Regions from separate parts of the Homo sapiens genome. Here all the other regions are linked to region 1. The links are contacts of gene promoters, found by promoter capture Hi-C in human tissues and cell types (Jung and others, 2019). All regions are on one chromosome and are shown on one strand. Each heading gives the region's core, a stretch centred on a gene start or on the middle of the fragment in contact. The rest is flanking DNA. Distances are from core to core; before and after follow the strand shown. Region 1 holds the start of SPTBN5 (spectrin beta, non-erythrocytic 5). Region 2 overlaps MGA (MAX dimerization protein MGA). Region 3 overlaps MGA (MAX dimerization protein MGA).

Region 1 (3,862 bases), core at 613-3,112:
GCTCCATCCAGCCAGGCCCAGCTCAGTGACTTCACAGCCTCCAGGGACAGCCACCTCCAGGAGCCCTTGGCCTTCACAGTTCCCGGTTTCCAATGATCCCTTTGCCCCACCCCACCCCTGCACCAGCCCCTCACCCTGGCCATGAGGGTCCCTCTGTCCCTGGAGCTCCGGCCTCCTTTTAGTGCCCATCTCCTTAGCCTGTCCCTTTCTTTCAGGTGACTCTGCCTCCCCCCATTTGCTGAGGCCTCCTCCCTCCTTCTCCAAGACAGGCCCTGCTCCTCTTCCCCACCTGCCGTCTTAGTCCCACATCTGGGCTCTGTTGGCTGGTTAACCATCGATCTTGCCTGGTAAATAATTCAGGGCCTCTGTTTCCTCATCTGTGAAATGAAAAGCCTAAGAGAACGCTAAGATTCTTTTGGCCTAGAATCCTGTGAGTCTCTCTTATGACAGACAGTGACATTTTCCACCCCAGTAGGGACCTGGATTGCTACTGCCATGGCCAGCTGGGTGCTCTCCAAGTCAGGGGTGCTGTGCGAGGAGGGCGTGGCTTCTGCTCCTCTGTGTCCCAGCCACTCCTCCTGTACTCAGGCCCCAGCTCCTCTGTTCTGCCCAGTGGCCTGGCGCAGGAAAGGTGACCCAGTAGTTCAGCCTGTCCCAGCTGCCTGCCCCAGCACCATCCCAGACCCCTTTCCCTGGGGCCCACCTTGGCCCTGAGGAAGGCCAGAGCTCGGCTGCTGTTCTCCAGGAAGTGCACACGCAGGCGGCCCCGGCTCGGGGGTGGCAGGGCCTCCCCTGAGATGAGCTCCAGCAGCCGCAGGAGGTGGATGCCGTCAGCCAGCTCTGTGTACAGGTTCCGGATCTTGATGCCCGCCTGGGGAGGGGACAGGGGTAAGTATGGGGTCAGCCCAGCCTCACCTGTCCTCCCATCCTGGGACCTGAGAGGTACGACCCAGAGCAGCTGCTTTGGAAGAAGGAGCTCTGGCCTCAGCTTGGCCTCAGGCAGATGACCCCACAGCTCACCCCGGAGGCCCACTGGCCAGAGCTGGGGGCCTGGTATGGGTGGGCTGTGGGTCACAGCTGGCTATACTCACCTGGCCGCACTGGAAGACGTTATTGATCCACTTGGTGAAAGTCTTCTCCTGCATCTGCATGTGCCGGGCCTGTAGCTTGCGAATGTGGCCCGTCTCGTACTGAGAGTCCATGGTGAGACTTGGACTGGGCGGGACCCGGAGTTCTGTGCTGGGCCTCCTGCTGCGGTGCCCTGCAGCCCCGAGGAGCTCCCGGGGACTGTGGGGCTGACCAGCCATCAGCCCTGCAGACTTTGGGGATGAGGAGCTGCTGGATGGCTCCCTAAACCTGGAGGGCATGCAGATTAGGGGATGATGTGAATGGAGATGGCCCCTCTACCAGGGGCCTGGGGTCCCGCCTTGCCAGACTGTCCTCACATTTCATGGGGGTTGCAGCTTGGAGCCCAGCCAGGTAAGGGCCAGTGCTTCTGGTCCCCTGTGCTTGAATGGCCCAGGGCCCCCTTTGCCCCACCCCACCTTCCAGATTCTTCTTCTCAGAGCCCCTGCTGCCAGGTCCCTCCACCACAGTGACTGGGACAGGTGGAAGGAAGACAGGAAACTGCTTACCTTGGTGATGCCTGGGTCCCACAGAGACGGCTCTGCTGGACGGATGGAGATGGTAGATAGCAGGGGCTGCTTACCTTGGTGATGCCTGGGTTCCACAGAGGCGGCCCAGCTGGACGGATGGAGATGGCAGATAGCAGGGGCTGTGGAGGGAGGGAGAGGGACATCAGGAGAGGCCAAGGCTGGAGCAGGGCTGCACCACAGCCCTCCCCTTGAGCCAGCGTGCTGGGGTGACGGCACACAGGCGGCATTGTCCTCCCACCTGCCACAGGGCGTGGCCCAGACAGGGAGGGGGTGGTTCAGGAATGCTCCAGGGCCATTGCCAGATGATGTCCTCCTTCATCATCCTCCCTTCCCCGCCAGCAACTTCTCCAACTCCAGGTGGGGGTCCTGGCTCCCAGGACGCAGAGGCCCATGGAGCGGCCCTGCCACCGCATGGGGTGCTGCAGTCTGCGTAGGAGGTACCAAAGGGCAGAGCCTCTGTGGGAAGCCTGTGGACGCACTTCCCAATCTGAGACTGCCCTCTGTACCCTCTTGGGGCCTCTCTGTGAGCACCCAGGGCGAGGGGATGAGGGAGCGTCCTGGGCCGTGGTCTTCTCATTCACCCCCAGGGAACAGCCCATAGACTGAGGGCCTCACAGACCCTGGGCTTGGCTTTCCAGGCCCTGCCAGAGTGCAGCCTGCCTAGCCCGGGGCTGAAGGGTAGGCTCCCTGGAGGAAGGGGTGACCTGGAACTGCGAGGGCTGTGGAGTCTCCTCCAAAATTAGAGACACGGTGTTAACTCTGGGCTCCACAGAGCTGGCCGTGGCCCGGGGCTCGGAGGCAGGGGTGCAGAGGGAGCTGGTGGGCGCCCATCCCTTCCTCCCCGAGCAGCCGTGGACTACATGCCAGAGTGAAGGCGAGTTCTAATTCTGGGGGTCTCACCCGCCTCTGGCTAAACTCAGGGTAGCAGTGTGGGCTGGGGTGTGTGTGTGTGGGTGTCTTCCAGCGGCCCTGGAGCCTCTGAAGCGACAGCCCGCTCCTCAGGGAGGCGCTCCTGGCAGCCACAGCCCACAGCAGGACAGCCGCTCAGCGCGCCCTTGAGAGCTGGGCTAGGGATGAGTCACACTTGAACCGCCTGGGCCCACTGCAGGCAGTCAGGGGTGACGCTGAGAGGTGCCGTGGTCTCGGGTGGGGTGCGGCTTCCTGCGTCTGAGAGACGCTTCCTCTCCTGCTGTCCTCTCCCTGCCAGGCCCCTTCTGCAGCGGCTGGCTTCCAGACACCCTGCGTCCCTCCCTTGCTCGCAGCAGTTGCTGTGGCGGTCCTCCCGTGCACCCCCCCTTCTGCCCTCACTGCCCCTGGGGGTCCTCATCACGGACCCCCTAACTCGGCATCCTGGACACCACCACCCCGCACCTTTCCACAGTGCAGCTCTGCTCGTGCCTGTGAAGCCTCCCACAGCCTGGGAAGGAAAATCCAGACTTGCCAGACCTTGCCTCAGCCAGGCCTTGGAAGCCTGCCAGCTTACCTAACCAGGCTAGTCTGCCCCCCTCACTCTGGGTGCTCTCCATGGGCCACTCACCATTTCCTGAGCAGGACCAGAGCTCTCCTGCCCCAAGGCTGGGCTTCAGCTGCTCTTTCAGCTTTGAACGTCCTTTCCCATTCTCCATCATCCACATTCACCTATCCTGCCTGCCCCAGTTAAAATCCTGTTTCTTCTAGGAAGTCCCTCATCCCACCCGCTTACCCCAGGGAGACTGAGCTTGTTCCTTCTCCTAGTAAGACCCTCAGCCCATGGAGTCCTGTGTGATGTTGTGAGCGTGGGAGGACAGACTGAACTGCTCGGCCCGTGGAGTCCTGTGTGATGTTGTGAGCGGGGAGGACAGACTGAACTGCGTGGTGCTTCGCACATAGACCTCAACAGGGATTGGCATTTTGAAGCTGTTGGCGGGGGCTGTGGACTGCTTTTCTTCCTTTCTAGCTCAACGGCAGCTAAAGCCACTGCATACAATGCAAGGACTGGCTCCTGTTTGGCCACGACTGATTGCAGCCCCTGGTGAAATGAGAACCCTGTGGGTCGGAACAAAGTTTGGATTATTTATGTTGCAAGTAACTAAAATCTCAAGTGAAACTGGTTTAAACATTATATTTTTATTATTTATTTATTTATATTTAATTCTTTTTTAGAGACAGGGTCTTCTTAGGTTGCCCAGGCTGGTCTTGAACTCCTGGCCTCAACGATCTTCCCACTT
Region 2 (3,862 bases), core at 816-3,315, 160 kb before region 1:
TGGCCTGTCTAGGGAGACATTCTACATATATGTAAAATGCTTAGGTCAGCATGTGCCTGGTACATTATAAGTACCCTGTAAACACTAGCTTTCATTATTATCTGCTCAGAACAAAATCTGCTATTAATACATTAACTACGTAGATTAAATGGAAACTGCCATTATCCTACAGCTCTTGCCTCCTTGGCAACAGTGTTCTGGGTCAAAGGCTGGTGTCTGATCCAAGATGAACCATTCAGACTCCTTTCCTAGGATTTTAAAAATTGGAACCAAGGGCTGCTCTGTCTATGGAGTAGCCATTTTTTTATTCCTCTACTTTTCTTTTTTCTTTTTTTAAAGACGGAGTCTCGCTCAGCCACCCAGGCTGGAGTGCAGTGGCGCTGTCTTGGTTCACTGCAACCACCGTCTCTGGGGTTCAAGTGATTCTCCCATCTCAGTCTCCCGAGTAGCTGGCATTACGGGCGGGTGCCACCATGCCCGGCTAATTTCTATGCTTTAGTTGAGACGGGGTTTTACCATGTTGGCCAGGCTGATCTTGAACTTCTGACCTCAGGTGATCCACCCACCTCGGCCTCCCAAAGTGCTGGATTACAGGCGTGAGCCACAACATCCAGCCTGTTCCTCTACTTTCTTAACTTGCTTTCACTTAAAAAAAAAATTGGAACTAAGGAAAGAGGGCAGTCTCTCCTGATTAGTGAAAGTGGAATGATAAAAGAGTCTAGGTGGCAGTCTGTCCAACCCATGGAGGATTATATGAGAAACTGAGGCACACATTCACAGATAATTTAAATAATAAGTTCTGATTCCAGTTACCCTTGTAGTTAGGCTACACCTCTTCCCTTTCCATGGTTCAGCTGATGGCTGGGGGCTCCACCTTCGCTTGTACTGCCACCTCAACATCAGTGGTGACTCCCCGGAAAACCACTAAAGGTATAAATCAGCAGTTTTCTTTTAAACAGCAATTTGTTAATGACAAAAACAAAAAAATTTAAATGTGCATATCTTTTTGACCCTAAATTGTAAGTGTACATAGCATGAGGGCACAAAGATATGTGCATGTATGTATGTTTACTCAAACATACGCATATATATAGCTGTTCAGTGCACTATTGCCCTTACTAATGAGAAATTGGAGGCAGAATGCCTGTTAATAGAGGATTTGATAAATTAAAAAGTATTATTCTTTCTGATCCTGGAGTAATTTTAAAAATTCTAGTTTTATTAATTTGTCTGTAATTATTAGGGTGTGCATCTTTCCACATTGGCAAATTTTGTTTCTTTCTTTTTTTTTTCGAGATAGGGCCTCACTCTGTCACCCAGGCTGAAGTGCAGTGGCATGGTCTCGGCTCACTGCAACCTTCAGCTCAAGCGATCCTTCTGTCTCAGCCTCCCAACCAACTGGGACTATAGGTGTGTGCCACCATTTGTGGCTAAGCTTTTGTATTTTTGGTATAGATGGGGTTTTGCCTTGTTGGCCAGGCTGGTTTGAACTCCTGGGCTCAAGTGATCTTCCCACCTCGGCCTCTCGGAATGCTGGGATTGCAGGCATGAGCCACCGAGACTGGCCTCAACTGGTGAATTTTCTGAATAACTGTAGTTTGTTTCATTTAACAGTAAATATGTTTCCCTCTTTAAAGTACAATGTGAATTTTTTTCTTGATGACTCAGTCACTATCAAGGACATTAGGTAGCAAAACTATGTGTTTTTACCCAGGGTTTTATATGATAGTAACGTAGATGTGCATGTGGATTGAAGCTGTTGACATTTCAGTCATTCTAATGATTTAAACTTCTGTGAGAGATTTAATGCTTGTGTCCAAGTTTCTGTGGGTATTGAATATATGTTAAGTTAAAGTATTTCTGTGTTACTGTCTCCTTCAGGAACCTGATTCTGAACAGCAGCCCTTAAAACAACTCACCTGTGACTTGGAGGATGATTCTGATAAATTACAAGGTCAGAATGAAAACTAGATCTTAACATTTGATAAAAATTATTTAGGTCTAGATTATAGTAATAATGGGAGAAAACCCAAACCATCAATTCAGAATATGTCTGCCTACCCTGTTTCAAACTTATGCCAAAAACAGGGACAATAAGTAAAAGTTTTTTTTCCCCATTATTTGGTCTGTTAACACTCCTGCTCTCAAAAATAAAAGAAAATTCATTCATGTTGATAAAGCATGTTGTTGCAAGAGACATTTAGGTTGAGGTCAGTGAGTTTTTTTTTTTTTAACCTCTTTCCAAACCCCAGTAATATTGGCATCATTAGCCTTTGGTCCTCCATCACTGCCACCTCTGGGGAAATCTAGAAGGAGAAAGGAAGGAATATTACTGTGATTTAGCTGGCAGAGGCTACTGTCAGAATTACTTTGATGACAGGTAGTGGTCAGGTGGTTACCAATTTGTTTTTGGTTATGCTTCCCGAGACTTCTGACACTTAAGCAGCAGGGCTTCCTAACTTCTTAAAAAACGTCATGGTACATACAAATAATTAACAATGTTTCTATAGCACATTGCGGTAAGTGGAGGAGGCTACTAGGGTGGAGGGAACCTGCCTGAGAGCGTGAGCACCCTGAGGATTATGGGGGCCCTTGACATACCAGTACACTCATTGGGAAGCTGTGCTAAAGAAATCCAGGAGTCTAGTGAAATACATGTCTAGTCAACATGTTGCCATGGAAAGAATACTTTGGGTAGTTGAGTGATCTGCAAACAGTGTAGAAATGGAGCAATCATATCTAGAAGCACAGAAGTAATTCAGAGGTATTTGCAGTAGAAATTAGAGTTAGAGTGCACTTAAAATCAGAATACTACAGCTGGGCGCAGTGGCTCACGCCTGTAATCCCAGCACTTTGGGAGGCCGAGGCGGGTGGATCATGAGGTCAAGAGATCCAAGACCATCCTGGCCAACATGGTGAAACCCCGTCTCTAGTAAAAATACAAAAATTAACTGGGCGTGGTGGCACGCGTCCATAATCTCAGCTACTCGGGAGGCTGAGGCAGGAGAACCACTTGAACCTGGGAGGCAGAGGTTGCAGTGAGCTATCACGCCTCTGCACTCCAGCCTGGCGACAGAGCTAGACTCCGTCTCAAAAAAAAAAAAAAATCAGAATACTATTTTTCTTGCTGTTCTTTTGGATTGACTCTAATCTGTACATGTTTCAAAGCATCTAGCAAGTAGTTTCACTTTGCCTGTATGTATAGCAAAATAGTAACCTATACCAGTGAAGCTTAACCTTGGTTGTAGGTCATGGTTTGTTTGCAAGCTAACTCTAATGTAATAATTGTGGCATTTAGAGTAGTGTTAAGGGAACTACCTGTTAGAGCCCAGTCAGCAGGATAATGAGGACTATTGTAGTCTTATTCTCTGGAACTTTTTCTTCCTGGAAAACTCCCAAATTGTGAAAGTTGATACATTTTAAGTTACTACTGTGAAAGAACGTGAGAATGTGACAGTTTTTTTTCAGAGTTTCATACAAAATGCTGTGATGCAGAAATAATCTTTCAACTTTTTCTTTTTTATTATTATTTTACATCAGAAAAGAGCTGGAAGTCTTCCTGCAATGAAGGAGAATCCTCTTCTACTTCTTATATGCATCAGAGGTCACCTGGTGGTCCCACCAAACTGATTGAGATCATCTCAGACTGCAACTGGGAGGAAGATCGGAACAAGATTTTGAGCATCTTATCCCAGCACATCAATAGCAACATGCCACAATCACTTAAGGTGGGCAGCTTCATCATTGAGTTGGCTTCTCAGCGAAAGAGCCGGGGTGAGAAGAACCCTCCTGTTTATTCTTCTCGTGTGAAAATCTCTATGCCATCATGTCAAGACCAAGATGATATGGCTGAGAAATCTGG
Region 3 (3,862 bases), core at 627-3,126, 140 kb before region 1:
TGGAGCTAGTTTTGTGTCTCAGGCTGGTACATTGACCCTGAGGATTTCTCCTCCTGAACCACAAAGCTTTGCAAGTAAAACAGGCTCTGAAACCAAAATAACTTATAGCTCAGGAGGACAGCCTGTTGGTACAGCCAGTCTTATTCCTCTCCAGTCTGGTAGTTTTGCCTTGTTACAGCTCCCAGGACAAAAGCCTGTTCCTAGCTCCATTCTTCAGCATGTTGCTTCCCTTCAGATGAAGAGAGAATCTCAGAATCCAGACCAGAAAGATGAAACAAACTCAATAAAAAGAGAGCAAGAAACGAAGAAGGTTCTACAGTCAGAAGGAGAGGCTGTAGACCCTGAGGCTAATGTAATAAAACAAAACTCAGGAGCTGCTACCTCAGAAGAAACTCTGAATGATTCCTTGGAAGATAGGGGTGATCATTTGGATGAAGAATGCCTTCCAGAAGAAGGTTGTGCAACTGTCAAACCATCTGAGCATTCCTGTATCACTGGGTCACATACAGATCAAGATTATAAAGATGTTAATGAAGAATATGGGGCTAGGAATCGTAAGAGTTCCAAAGAAAAAGTGGCTGTTCTGGAAGTTAGGACCATTTCTGAAAAAGCCAGTAATAAGACAGTCCAAAATTTAAGTAAAGTACAGCATCAAAAACTTGGTGATGTGAAGGTGGAACAGCAGAAAGGATTTGACAATCCAGAAGAAAACTCAAGTGAATTTCCAGTCACCTTTAAGGAAGAAAGTAAATTTGAATTGTCAGGAAGCAAAGTTATGGAGCAGCAATCTAATCTACAGCCAGAGGCCAAAGAGAAGGAATGTGGAGACTCTCTGGAGAAAGACAGGGAAAGATGGAGAAAACATCTGAAGGGCCCCTTAACCAGGAAATGTGTTGGAGCTTCACAGGAATGTAAGAAAGAGGCAGACGAGCAGTTAATTAAAGAAACAAAGACATGTCAGGAAAATTCAGATGTGTTTCAGCAAGAACAAGGCATCTCTGACTTACTTGGAAAAAGTGGAATTACTGAAGATGCCAGAGTTTTGAAAACTGAATGTGATTCTTGGAGTAGGATTTCTAATCCTTCAGCCTTCTCCATTGTTCCTAGGAGAGCTGCAAAAAGCAGCAGAGGGAATGGACATTTTCAGGGTCACTTACTGCTACCTGGAGAACAGATACAACCAAAGCAAGAGAAGAAGGGTGGGAGAAGCAGTGCTGACTTCACTGTTTTGGATTTGGAAGAAGATGATGAAGATGATAATGAGAAAACTGATGATTCTATTGATGAAATTGTGGATGTTGTTTCTGACTACCAGAGTGAGGAGGTTGATGATGTAGAAAAGGTGGTGAGCCCATTTTTGTTGTGACTGAAACCTAAAGGATTTAAATGATTTATTAAAGACAGAAGCTTTTTCAGAAGAGCACTAAGGCATAATACATTTAATTGGATGCCTAGGTTTAAGATTATGACTTAAATGGCTTAGTAGTTCTTTAGGCTGTGTCAATCAAGCATCATTTATTGAGCTTTTATTCTTTGAGACTTGTCTGGTTTTATGGGAAGGCTGGCTTAAATATTTGGGGGATAGGTGCTTGAGAGTCCCTACCGAGTTAGATTTTTAAAATCCCGAAACCACTACTCCCATTTGACCTCAGTCAATTTCTATGACGTTTTCTATGTGAGGTGGTTGTAGCTTCTCTGGTAGATGTTAATCAGAAACTGGGAATGGGTGACCTTAGAACTAGAGGAGAACTTATTCACTTGCATATAGAGAGATGTTTTTGTTTTTGGAGAAAAACTGGAAAATACCATCATATTCTAGTACCATTTTGCCTTGAGTTGCTTTTATATCCAAAAATTAAATATTTAGTCTCTGGAATTTATATTCTAGACTTTGGTCTTCGTCCTTTGTAATATGACCTTTATGGCCTATTTTTATTATTTTCCTGAAGTTTTTTTTATAGGATTCCTATTTAGGGTTGTTGTATTTACTTAAATAAGTAACTGTCAGGTATTGATACAGTGCAGGAGTTGTACAAACGTTTTCTGTAAAAGGCCAGATAGTAAATAGTTTTAGACTTTGCAGAGAGCTAGATGGCTCTCTGTTGCGACTAATTGACTGCTGTTGTAGTATAAAAGCAGCTGTATTCCATTAAAACTTTAGTAAAAAAGTCCAGGTGCGGTGGCTCACACCCATAATCCCAGCACTTTGGGAGGCCGAGGTGGGTGGATCACCTGACGTCAGGAGTTTGAGACTAGTCTGGCCAACATGACAAAACCCCGTGTCTACTAAAAATACAAAAAATTAGCCAGGTGTGGTGATGGGTGCCTGTAATCCCAGTACTCAGAACGCTGAGGCAGGAGAATCGCTTGAACCCGGGAGGCTGAGGTTGCAGTGAGCCCAGATCGCGCCATTGCACTCCAGCCTGGGCGACAAGAACAAAACTCTGTCTCGGGTTAAAAAAAAAAAAGAAGTTGTTAGTGGGCTGTGGTTTGCTGACCCCTGACATAAGGTCTGATGTAAAACATGGGGAGATCATAACCAGCTGCCTGTGGAGTGCCCTAAAATCTAAACTGTGTCCTTCTTTTCAGGAGCAGATGACAGCCGTCTGCACTGATTGTCATACAACTGCTTGTTTTACAATCTCACTTCCTTGAGATTCATTCTGCCTCTGTGTTATCTGGTCCTTTTCTGTTATTGCTTAACTGCTTTATGCACATAAAATAAGACAAAAAGATTACTGTTTTAAAAATCTAAAATGTTGAAATATTTTATTTTAGCGATGGAGTCTTACTCTGTCGCCCAGGCTGGAGTGCAGTGGTGCGAACTCAGCTCACTGCAACCTCCACCTCTGGGGCTCAAGCAATTCTCCTGCTTCAGCCTCCTGAGTAGCTGAGATTACAGGAGCCTGCCACCGCCCCAGCTAATTTTTGTATTTACGTAGAGATGGGGTTTCACCATCTTGGCCAGGCTGGTCTTAATGTTCTTATATTGGTTATTTGAGTACCTCCATTGTCTCATTTATAAAGGAGGATCTTGCTCTAAAATTGGATGATTCTGTATTCATTTGACTTATACCTTCTCTCCATAGCCTAATCTTTTTCAAGAATGGATGTAAATTCATTGACTTTAGGAGTTATATTGCTGATTTTTTTGTGTTTTTTGCAGTCTCACACTGTAAGTCAGCCCAAGTTAACATGAGACCAAAAAACAGTTCAACTTTAAAACCAGTGAAAACTATTACTATTAGTGGAACTTACATAATAGAACCTTTAAAGTTTTTTTTTTTTTTTTTTTTTTTTTAACAGAGTCTCGCTTTGTCGCCCAGGCTGGAGTGCAGTGGTGCCATCTCGGCTCACTGCATCCTCTGCCTTCTCGGTTCAAGCGATTCTTCTGCCTCAGCCTCCCGAGTAGCTTGGGATTACAGGTGGGCACCACCATGCCCAGCTAATTTTTGTATTTTTTTAGTAAAGACAGGGTTTCACCATATTGGCCAGGCTGGTCTTGAACTCCTGACCTCAGGTGATCCACCCACGTTGGCCTCCCAAAAGTGCTGGGATTACAGGCATGAGCAACTGCCTCCGGCCTGAAGTATCTTAATCATACAAGGAGGCATTGCTTGAATGTACTAATAGGGAATTTGACAAGCAAACAAGTTATACTGACTTTTTTTTTAAAGGTCATATTAAGTGATCTCTAAAATCTAAAGTCTACACTGTTTTTATTTGCACATCTCACACCTACGTTACCTTTATGATTAGCATTGGAATACTGTGAGGGAAGTTGTAAATAGCTTCTTTAATTTAAATCTTCCTTGTGGAAGTTATTGGAATATTATTTAGAAATACTGCAGTTATGCCAGGC

The links. Contacts are between HindIII fragments. The study calls those that stand out against the background at their distance.
Region 2: a contact is called between a fragment that was not itself captured here and the fragment with the promoter of SPTBN5 in region 1, in 4 of the 25 tissues and cell types used here (H1 embryonic stem cells, dorsolateral prefrontal cortex, mesendoderm cells and 1 more).
Region 3: a contact is called between a fragment that was not itself captured here and the fragment with the promoter of SPTBN5 in region 1, in 3 of the 25 tissues and cell types used here (bladder, dorsolateral prefrontal cortex and spleen).

The regions. Positions count from the first base shown.
Region 1 is chr15:41,892,191-41,896,052 of GRCh38, forward strand. It overlaps SPTBN5 (spectrin beta, non-erythrocytic 5), which reads right to left and starts at 1,863. Exons shown (of 68, transcript NM_016642.4): 1 at 1,709-1,863; 2 at 1,092-1,356; 3 at 704-871. The coding sequence starts at 1,307. It overlaps LOC105370792 (a long non-coding RNA gene), which reads left to right and starts at 587. Exons shown (of 4, transcript NR_135681.1): 1 at 587-888; 2 at 3,037-3,146; 3 at 3,390-3,862. It overlaps EHD4 (EH domain containing 4), which reads right to left. Exons shown (of 6, transcript NM_139265.4): 6 at 3,743-3,862. RefSeq lists an enhancer at 648-707. The HindIII fragment of the contact is 14,752 bases long and covers 1-3,862 here.
Region 2 is chr15:41,732,641-41,736,502 of GRCh38, forward strand. It overlaps MGA (MAX dimerization protein MGA), which reads left to right. Exons shown (of 24, transcript NM_001400225.1): 12 at 1,882-1,954; 13 at 3,541-3,862. Among named protein-coding and RNA genes, the nearest start is that of MAPKBP1, 40 kb to the right of the region's middle. The HindIII fragment of the contact is 3,107 bases long and covers 513-3,619 here.
Region 3 is chr15:41,749,274-41,753,135 of GRCh38, forward strand. MGA (MAX dimerization protein MGA) reads left to right here. Exons shown (of 24, transcript NM_001400225.1): 17 at 1-1,342. Among named protein-coding and RNA genes, the nearest start is that of MAPKBP1, 23 kb to the right of the region's middle. The HindIII fragment of the contact is 7,681 bases long and covers 1-3,862 here.